Regions from separate parts of the Homo sapiens genome. Here region 2 is linked to region 1. Evidence: promoter capture Hi-C in human tissues and cell types (Jung and others, 2019). All regions are on one chromosome and are shown on one strand. Each heading gives the region's core, a stretch centred on a gene start or on the middle of the fragment in contact. The rest is flanking DNA. Distances are from core to core; before and after follow the strand shown. Region 1 holds the start of GLE1 (GLE1 RNA export mediator). Region 2 overlaps SPTAN1 (spectrin alpha, non-erythrocytic 1).

What was found. Contacts are between HindIII fragments. The study calls those that stand out against the background at their distance.
Region 2: a fragment that was not itself captured here is called in contact with the fragment with the promoter of GLE1 in region 1 in 2 of the 25 tissues and cell types used here (dorsolateral prefrontal cortex and liver).

What each region holds. Positions count from the first base shown.
Region 1 is chr9:128,501,580-128,506,852 of GRCh38, forward strand. It overlaps GLE1 (GLE1 RNA export mediator), which reads left to right and starts at 3,140. Exons shown (of 16, transcript NM_001003722.2): 1 at 3,140-3,325. The coding sequence starts at 3,227. RefSeq lists a silencer at 2,951-3,160 and an enhancer at 3,381-3,540. The HindIII fragment of the contact is 8,169 bases long and covers 858-5,273 here.
Region 2 is chr9:128,606,513-128,611,785 of GRCh38, forward strand. SPTAN1 (spectrin alpha, non-erythrocytic 1) reads left to right here. Exons shown (of 57, transcript NM_001130438.3): 32 at 1,092-1,191; 33 at 1,340-1,537; 34 at 1,618-1,764; 35 at 2,362-2,465; 36 at 2,610-2,772; 37 at 3,139-3,153; 38 at 5,202-5,273. Among named protein-coding and RNA genes, the nearest start is that of DYNC2I2, 48 kb to the right of the region's middle. The HindIII fragment of the contact is 5,536 bases long and covers 1-4,922 here.

The sequences.
Region 1 (5,273 bases), core at 1,890-4,389:
TTGTAGAGACAGATCTCACCACATTGCCCAGGTTGGTCTTGAATTCCTGGGCCCAAGTGAACCTCTCATTTTGGCCCCCCAGAGTGCTGGGATTACAGGGGTGAGCCACCACACCCAGCCTTCTCTGTGTTCTTGAATCCACCTAGGCATCTGGATTTCAAAGACCAGAAATCTCTTTTCTCTACCAAATTTTGAGGATATTTATAGTTTCCAGCTTTCAGTTTTTCCAATGAAGGTAATTCCAGCTACCACTGCCAAAAAAACTAAGCCCATTTTCATACTCTTAACGTAAATAGACAAGAACTTATAATAGGTGAAAGACCTTCCCGAGAAAGGACAATTGACAAACTTCCACCAGCATGTATATATATCTGTATAACTCATTATTATTTTTGCCAAACTAGAGAAAACCTCAGTGCAGGGCACTGCTATGTAACTCTGGTGTGAGCAACACCTCTCTTGGAGTCCCTTGCTGGGACTCTGGGGACTCTTCCAACAATTTTTCTTTTTAAAATATTTTTATTACAAGAAGTCCAGGGAATTTTTAAAAACTCAGAAAATGAAAATTGTTCACATTGCTCATACTCCAGAGAGAATTCTTCCTACCTCAAACTGAGATCTCACGAGGTGGTGGACAATGGAAGGGTCAGAAAGTCTGGGGTCCCAGTTAGAGCCGTCTCTGGACAATTGTGACTCATTCTATTTTTATTGAGATATAATTCACATAAAATTCACTCTTTTTATTTTTTTGAAACAGGGTCTCCCTCTGTCATCCAAGCTGGTGAGCAGTGGCACAATGATGGCTCACTACAGCCTCAGCCTCCTGGGTTTAAGCGATCTCCTGCCTCAGCCTTCTGAGTAGCTGGGAGCACAGGTGCATGCCACCATGCCTGGCTAATTTTTGGATTTTTTTTTTTTTTGGTAGAGGCAGGTCTCATCATGTTGTCCAGGTTGGTCTCAAACTCCTGGGCTCAAGCCATCCTCCTACCTTGGCCTCCCAAACTGCTGGGATTACAAGCATGAGCCACCATACCTGGCCTAGAATTCACCCTTTTAAAGTGTAAATATAGGCCAGGCGTGGTCACTCACACCTGTAATCCCAGCACTTTGGGAGGCCGAGGCGGGTGGATCACCTGAGGTCAGGAGTTCGAGACCAGCCTGGCCAACATGGTGAAACCCTGTCTCTACTAAAAATACAAAAATTAGCCGGGAGTGGTGGTGGACGCCTGTAGTCCCAGCTACTTGGTAGGTTGAGGCAGGAGAATCACTTGAACCCAGGAGGTGGAGGTTGCAGTGATCCAAGATCACGCCACTGCACTCCTGCCTGGGCAACACGGCGAGATTCTGTCTCGAAAAGATAAAGTGTATATATAATTCAATGGTTTGTAGTATATTCACCAAGTTGTGTAGCCATCACCATTATCTAATTCTAGACCTAGTTTTTTCTTTTTTCGAAATGGAGTCTCTCTCTGTCACCCAGGCTACAGTGCAGTGGCACCATCTCGGCTCACTGCAGCCTCTGCCTCCAGAGTTCAAGGGATCCTCCTGCATCAGCCTGTGGGGACTATAGGTGCATGGCACTTTGCCTGGCTAATTTTTGTATTTTTTGTAGAGACAGGGTTTTGCCATGTTGCCCAGGCTTGTCTGAAACTCCTGACCTCAGGTGATCTGCCCACCTTGGCCTTCCAAAGTGCTGGGATTACGGCACCCAGCCAACCAATTTCATCACTCCCAAAAAAGAAACGCCATACCCATTAGCAGTCACTCCCCATTCCCCTCCCCCAGCCCCTGGCAACTAGTCATAAAGTTTCTCTGGCTCTATAGATTTGTCTCTTCTGGATATTTCACATAAGTGGAATTGTCCAACATGTGGCCATTCATGACTGGCTTCTCTCAGCATAATGCTTTCAAGATTGATGTTGCAGCGTATCATCAGCACTTTATTTTTATGGCCCCATAACATTCCATTATATAGATGTGGTGTTTCCTCCTGCCAAACAGGGCTGGTTGGGATTCCAAAGAAGCACTATGGCCGGGCGCAGTGGCTCATGCCTGTAATCCCAACGCTTTGGGAGGTCGAGGTGGGTGGATCAACTGAGGTCAGGAGTTCGAGACCAGCCTGACCAACATGGTGAAACCCCGCCTCTGCTAAAAATACAAAATAGCTGGGCGTGGTGGCTGGCGCGTGTAGTCCCAGCTACACGGGGAGCTGAGGCAGGAGAATCGCTTGAACCCGGGAGGCGGAGGTTGCAGTGAGCCGAGATCGAGCCACTGTACTCCAGCCTGGGGGACAGAGCAAGACTCTGTCTCAAAAAAGCAGCATTAAACCCAAAACATTTATTAGGGAAGCTTACAGAGTGGGCTGCAGCAATTCTCGCGACAGACAGAGAGAAGCGGTGTTTCACCTAGGTACATCCCCAGCGAGGGGTCAGGGTATGAAGTTTATATGAGGGTTTATGGAATTTGGCTAAAAGCAGGGGTCAGTTTCAGCGTTTTGGGCAATAACCTAGATATCCTTAGTGCCTAGGGATATGCAAGGCCCGTGTTTGGTTGCAAGTCTGCAGGAAAAAACTTGCAGCTGGCTGGGTCACAGGGCGGTCAAGGCACTCTGATACTTGGTCAGTGCACAGAAAGCGGGGGAACTCGGGAACCGCGCACATAGTACTATATTTTATTTATCCATTCACCAATGGATGGACGTTTGGGTTGCTTTCACTTTTTGGCTATTATGAATAACACTGCTGTGAACATTCATGGACAAGTTTTTATATATACATAGGTTTCATTTCTTTGGCGTATTTTATATATATATATATATTTACCTAGGAGAATTGCTGGGTCAAATGGTAATTGTTTAACCTTTTGAGGAACTGCCAGACTGTCTTCCACAGCAGGTGCTTCATTTTACAGTCCCATGAGCAGTGTATGAGGGTTCCAGTTTCTGCACAGTCTCAAGGCACAGACAAATTTTCAGCAGCCCCGGGGATTGGGAGCGGTGGTTACCTCTGCGGAACGTGCCCCGACAGCCAAGCCCTGCGCGCAGGCGCACTGGTGGGAGGGCGGGAACGCGGGAGCGTCGCCGGAGGTGGGGCGTGCAGGCGTTAGGGGCGGGGCTGTGCTGCGCGCGCGTCCCGGAAGCAGAAGCCTGTGTGGCCTTCCCGGCGGCTGATTCGAGGGCTTGTTTGGTCAGAAGGGGGGCGTCAGAGAAGCTGCCCCTTAGCCAACCATGCCGTCTGAGGGTCGCTGCTGGGAGACCTTGAAGGCCCTACGCAGTTCCGACAAAGGTCGCCTTTGCTACTACCGCGACTGGCTGCTGCGGCGCGAGGTGAGCGGTGGCCCCGGAGGACGTAGGCCTTTCCGGCCCCTCGCGACCGAAACCTTCTCCCTAGCCGTTGGCACGTTCTGCTCCCGGGAACCCGTGCAGTCTAACAACCTGCATTTATTTCTTGACTTCTGTGTGTACATCCCTCTGTCCTGGGGTTTCTGTCCTCTTCAGCCTATTTTAGCGTTTCGGGGAGCTCCCCTGACTTCACAGGTGCCCCGCGCTCTGAAGGCTTCATTGCTACCCTCCGCCAGTTGGGCGCCTTCTCCGTTCTGCTGTTGTCAAAGCAATCTCGGCCCCAGGTTCAGTTAACTTACTGTATGTCTCATGTGCTGGGAGCTCTAGAGTTTGCGACGAACGATTGACACGACCTAATCCATTGCTACTAGTGAAATGACCAAATTTTTAGATTGATTTGGCAGACCTGGAAAGTGAATGGGGGCGTGGTCACCGTACCTAGCATTTGCAAAGCTCTGCGCGAGAAGTGGAGGGATGTGGAGAGTTAAGGCCGAGCTCCCATTCCCGAGTCGCTGCTAGTTAGCTACAGATAAGGCGTTGTCCTGCATCCTCAGACTTCTTGGGAAACAATCCTAAAGTATTTCCCTGTCTTTTATGTTGTTGACAGTTTTGAAAAATACAGACCTTACATTCTGTAGGTTGACTGCCAGCATATGTGCTTTCAAACCACCAGACCAAGGTTAAGCATTCTTGGCAGGAATACCACAGAAATGATGCCATGGCTTTCTCAGTAAGTCACATGAGGAGGCACACAGATGTCAACCCATCCCAACACTGGTGATGCTAATCTTGATCACCTGGTTACGTTATTATCTGCCTGGTCTCTCCGTTTAAAATTCGTCATTTTTCCCTTAGTAATTGTTGGGAAGTAATAATACCAGTATCCTTTTTTCTGGGCAAACCTTAATCCTCCATGGCTTTAGCATTCATTGATGTTTTCCACATGAATCGATACCTCTATGACGTTGCCAGATCCTGTTTCTTTATATCCGCTATTCCTTCTGCATTTGTTAGTTGGCATTCTACTGTAAGGAGGTGCTTTCTATTTTATTCAGTGAGTTGTAATCCATTACTTTTATTATTTATTTATTTTATTTTAAATGTCCCAGATTTTGTAAGCTTGTATCAAAATAATCACATGCAAGGCTAGGCGTGGTGGCTCAGGCCCGTAATCCCAGCACGTTGGGAGGCCGAGGGGGACGGATCACTTGAGGTCAAGAGTTCGCGACCAGCCTGGCCAACATGGTGAAACCGCATCTCTACTAAAAATACAAAATTAGCCGAGCATGGTGGTGCATGCCTGTAATCCCAGCTACTCGGGAGACTGAGGCATGAGAATTGCTTGAACCCTGGAAGCAGAGGTTGCAGTGAGCCGAGATTGTGCTGCTGCACTCAAGCCTGGGTGACAGAGTGAGACTGTGTCTCAAAAAAAAAAATGTAGCCTTGTAAATATGTACAACAATTATGTATTCATAAGAATTAAAAAGAAAAATGTCCCAGATTTGGCTACTGGGCACCTCATTAAGTTGGTTCCTGTGTTCCTGTGACATATTTCCATCTTTCATTGACATTTCTTTACTTTTTGACACAAAAAGATGTCCCAGGTGCAAGTTTCCCTGTCTTAATCCTGGAATCAGCTATTTCTCCAAAGAGGCTGACTCTTTTGAAGTGGAGGATGGTGCTGTATTGGCAAACCAAGATCTGGGAGTTGAGTGTGTTGAGATTCTTGATTGGGTACCATTGCTTCTAGGCCTTCTCAGTAGACAGAGCTAGGAAATAATACATATCTAAATATGTACACACATCACCACACACACATTTATGTACTGTCTATTTGTGTGTACATATATATTATAAAACCATGACTTCATACTGATAAATGCCACTTCCAACCCAGCACTTCACTTTTCTTTCTAATCTTACCCCATCCATG
Region 2 (5,273 bases), core at 905-3,404, 100 kb after region 1:
TCGCTTTTGTGCCCAGGCTGGAGTGCAGTGGTGCGATCTCAGCTCACCGCAACCTCCGCCTCCTGGGTTCAAGCGATTCTCCTGCCTCAGCCTCCCAAGTAGCTGGGATCACAGGCATGCACCACCAAGCCCGGCTAATTTTGTATTTTTTTTAGTAGAGGCGGGGTTTCTCCATGTTGGTCAGGCTGGTCTCGAACTCCTGACCTCAGGTGATCCACCCACCTCGGCCTCCCAAAGTGCTGGGATTACAGGCGTGAGCCACTGCGCCTGGTTGTCTTTTTCTTCTTTTTATTGAGGTAAAAGCCACGTAACATACAATTAACTACTTTAAAATGTGCAATCCAATGACATTTAATGTATTCACGGTGTTGTGCAGCCACCCCTCTCTAGTTTTGGAACATTTTCATTGCCCTAGAATAACATTCCTTAACTAATCACCCCCTCTTCTCTCTTCCCCACCCACTAGGAATCCTTTATCTGCTTTCTATGTCTATGGATTTGCCTCTTCTGGACATGTCATATAAAAGGAATCATACCATATCTGACCTTACACACTCAGTTTTGTGCCCTTGTGGTTGTACAGCTGTGAGAAACTGGATCAAATGTATGCCCAGGCCTAGGGCTTCAAGGGTTAATCCTAAAGAAAGGCTTTTTCTTTTTTTTCTTTTTTTTTTAGAGACAGGGTTGCACCACATTGCCCAAACTGATCTTGAATTCCTGAGCTCAAGCGATCCTCCTGCCTCAGCCTCCCAAAGTGCTGGGATTACAGGCATGAGCCACCACGCCTGGCCAACAAAAGCTTTTTCATTTGAAGCTATCAAAGACTTAATTGTAGCTAGAACTTGTTATTCTGGAGGGTGAAAAGATCTTAATTATAAGCCTACTGACTTTTCCTCTGAGAAATTCGGACTTTTAAAAAAATAACAAGAAGTTTTTTAACACTTTGCCCAAAGACCTAGCCTCATTCAGTAGATCAGATTAACCCAAGATAACTTTCTGAGGCAAGAATTATGTCATTCTCTGTTTTCCTGGGCAGAAGATCTCCTTACCAGGTAATATAATAGCTATTTTTCTGGGGTGCTGGTTTCCAGGGACCTCATGTCTTGGATCAATGGAATACGGGGGTTGGTGTCCTCAGATGAGCTAGCCAAGGATGTCACCGGAGCTGAGGCATTGCTGGAGCGACACCAGGTGGGTGGACCTGCCTGCTGAGTAGCAAAGACGTGGCTGCTCTGCAGGGCCCTAGAGGCCTCATTCCCACCCTTTGTGGTGAGTCGGTGGTTGACGTCAGAGTGGGCATCTGCTGCCAGTTACCTAATCCCTTCCCTCCTTTTGGCAGGAACACCGGACAGAAATCGATGCCAGGGCTGGCACTTTCCAGGCATTTGAGCAGTTTGGACAGCAGCTGTTGGCTCACGGACACTATGCCAGCCCTGAGATCAAGCAGAAACTTGATATTCTTGACCAGGAGCGTGCAGACCTGGAGAAGGCCTGGGTTCAGCGCAGGATGATGCTGGATCAGTGCCTTGAACTGCAGGTGTGTGTGCTCCTGGTTTCTGACCAAGTGTTTCCTTGCTGAAGGGCCTCATTTTCTCACCTGCCTCTTGCCCTCTTTAGCTGTTCCATCGGGACTGTGAGCAAGCTGAGAACTGGATGGCTGCCCGGGAGGCCTTCTTGAATACCGAAGACAAAGGAGACTCACTGGACAGCGTAGAGGCTCTGATCAAAAAACATGAAGACTTTGACAAAGCGATTAACGTCCAGGTGAGGCCTCTGGACCATGGAGTTGGAGTCTGGATTTTTCCTGATTGACATCTGTTTCTTGGCTTATATAGTCACTGTTATATCTCCAAGGAATACCTGCGTTGTCTAAGAAAAATATGTACATAAATAATCTTTAAAACTTTATAGATTCTGGTATTTCTGAGATTTTAATAATGGGGGTGCCACAGGAAAAAAAAATATTATCAAAGGGATGGAAAACAAATGTGTGGGTAGGTAAGGGAATAATGAACAAACAACAAGGAAGATGTAAAACTGTTTGATTTATACGTCACTTTGCTGTAAATCTGACAGCATTTTCCTATTATCAGGCTTAATTTTGTTCTGTTCTGATATTCTAACACCTGCCCCACCTGAGTGACCTGGAGACTTCTTGAGTTAAACTCTACTCTAGTAATGAATGAAATCAAGCTTTCTTTTGGCATTTTACACTCTTGCTTCTAAAGTGTCAGTGTATTCTGATCCTGCCACCAGCTAGTTCTCAGTCACCCAAAATAACTATCCTTTTCTCAAGACTGGCAGTCCAGGCAGGGCCCAGCCACAGGCCCACCTTGATCTCATGCCTTTGTTTTCTGACAGGAAGAGAAGATTGCTGCTCTGCAGGCCTTTGCCGACCAGCTCATCGCTGCCGGCCATTATGCCAAGGGAGACATTTCTAGCCGGCGCAATGAGGTCTTGGACAGGTGGGTGTCCTGTGGCACTGACATAGTCACCAGCCCTGAGAGGATGCATCCCCTCATACGAAGGCCCAGGCCTGTTCTGTCTCCCCACTTCCTTCTCCACGGTAAGATATGCTCATGTTGGATCTCATGGTTTCACTCTTTCAGGTGGCGACGTCTGAAAGCCCAGATGATTGAGAAAAGGTCAAAGCTAGGAGAATCTCAAACCCTCCAACAGTTCAGCCGGGATGTGGATGAGATTGAGGCTTGGATCAGTGAAAAATTGCAAACAGCGAGTGATGAGTCGTACAAGGATCCCACCAACATCCAGGTAAGCTGAAGTGACTGGGTGTTGGTCTTGATGTAGCCTTATGTTATTGAGTAGATTTTGTTAAATAAAGCATTTATAAAACAATCTCCTTGCACCCATGGGAAGTCAGTGAGAAATATTTCAGTAAGCCCAGCCAGTGGGAAAGCCCTAGTCAAGTTTCAGAGCCATTTAAAAGTTGCCTTCCTCATTTGTCTCCATTAAAACTATTTCTGCTGTAATAAAAGTCTATAGAATCCCCCTTCTATTACTGTTCCCAAATGCTGAGCTTCCTGGGGGAAGTATGACAAAATGAGTTTCTATTTAATAGCTGATATGTGTGTCCACATCAGTGTACTGAACTCTTGTTCTTTTAATCTGTTTTTGTAGCTTTCCAAGCTGCTGGTAAGTTTTTAATTTTTTTAAGAGTTGTAGTTAAATGAGCTCCAGTATTTGTGTTACTCTGCGTAGATTATTGTTATTATTGTGGTCACACGGTTTGCTGGTGTCTCTTCATCCATCCTTTTCATTTCTAATCATCCATTACACTCCATTCAAGTGTCCCTGTGGGATGTGGCTTTTTCTGTTGTAATTAGCCTGCAACGCCTTACTCCCCCTTCTCTCCCCCAGTTTATCACTTAGGCAAATTCTGTACAGTGTTTGATTTGCGGGGCAGTAATTGACCATTTTCTTTCAAGGAGTGCTTCCTTTTGAAGATGGAACATCAGCTTCAGCTTTTTCTGTGTAGACATTGGCTCAGACTTGCTATGAGCTCATGGTGTTCGGTGGCCTGGGTTGGGGAGGCCAGTCTGGTGTGAGGGTTTTAATGCATACCCACTCTGGCATCCAGAGGTGCCAGTCAGGAGAGGAACAGCTAGAGAACTGTAGAGAGACGGATGGTCTATTAATACCTCCAAATCTTCAAGGAACACAAATGAGAAGTTAAGATAAAAGCAGACATCACTCAACAGGTAGTGAAAGGAGACTTCAGTCAACATGTAGCTCAAAGTTACTTAAGCGGGTGGAAGAAATGAAGATAGAGAAGAGAGTAAATGGGATTTGAACCAAAGGGTGATCAGAACAAGGAACAGAAGAAGAGGGTAATGGGACTTTTGTCAGGATATCTGAGTGTTTGAGACCCTTTTCCTTCTTGGCTTTGGGATCAGGCGGTGGGAGAACGTAACAAGGACATTTCATGTTAGTGCTGAATTGAGCCAGATGGCTCCATCCTTTGACAGTTGCTGCCTCTGAAATGAAACATTTGATGCAGAATTCCCCAACACTACTGCCTTTTAGTTGTTTTTTTTTTGCCCCCCAAATAACACTCCCCTGAGACCCTGCATTTCTTACCCAGCCAATTGTTTTTCCCAGAATTGTGGCATAGCTGCTATGTCCTTGCAATTGTCTCTTGTAGCATTTCAGTACCTTCTGTTTCTTTATGGATTCATAAAAACCATATCAGGCGCCCAGGATCAGGAGCCCATCCTTCTCCTAGCCCTTTCATTTCCCAGTAAAATAAATTCCTTCCTGCAGTCAAGCCTGGGTTCTGACAGTATCCCAGTGTTTTGATTAATGACAGCTACCTAAAGATAAATCAACAAAGCCAATGTCTGTAGTAGCTGTAGATTTCTCCTCTGTCAACAGAGGGAAAAGACTGACCATCAAATATTATTTTGCTGGTTATTACAATTTATGTTATGAATTTTGCTTAATGGTGATTTCTGCTTTAGATAATGAAATGTCCATATGTATCTCATTCATTACAGCCTGTCTCCAATAAGGAGAAAGCCATGGATGGAAATTGATGTACAAGCAGATTCAAAACTGAAGTTGGCCATTGCCATCTTCTGGAAAGTGTTAGGAAGTGTGTAATTCTAGGGCTTCACTCCCAAATAGCTAGCATAGCTACTGCAAGAATTGATTTTTTGGCCAGGCTTGGTGGCTCATGCTTGTAATCCCAGAACTTTGGGAGGCCAATGTGGCTCGATTGCTTGAGCTCGGGAGTTCAAGACCAGCCTGGGCAACATGGCGAAACCCCATCTCTACAAAAAATAGAAAAATTAGCTGGGTGTGATGTCATGCACCCATGGTCCCAGCTATTCGGGAGGCTGAGGTAGGAGGATTGCTTGAGCCGAAGAGGTTGAGGCTGCAGTGAGCTGAGATTACGCCACTGCACTCCAGCCTGGGCAACTGAGCAAGACCCTGTCTCAAAAAAAAGGACTTCCAGTTCATCTACTCCTGAGCTAGTACATTTCCTTCCTCCTTTGCTAACTCCCCAAGAGATGAACCCTAAAATATTTCATACAAACTCCAATTGCCTTCTGTTAAAAACGTTGGCATTTACCCCAGTTCTTTATGTTTGCTGCCACTCCCTGCCTCTGAGAACCCCTTCCCCCTGAAAAGACATAACCTAGCAGGAACTGGTTTGGAAAAAATTTTTTTGGTATTTTTAGAGCAAGCACCAGAAGCACCAGGCTTTTGAAGCAGAGCTGCATGCCAACGCTGACCGGATCCGTGGGGTTATC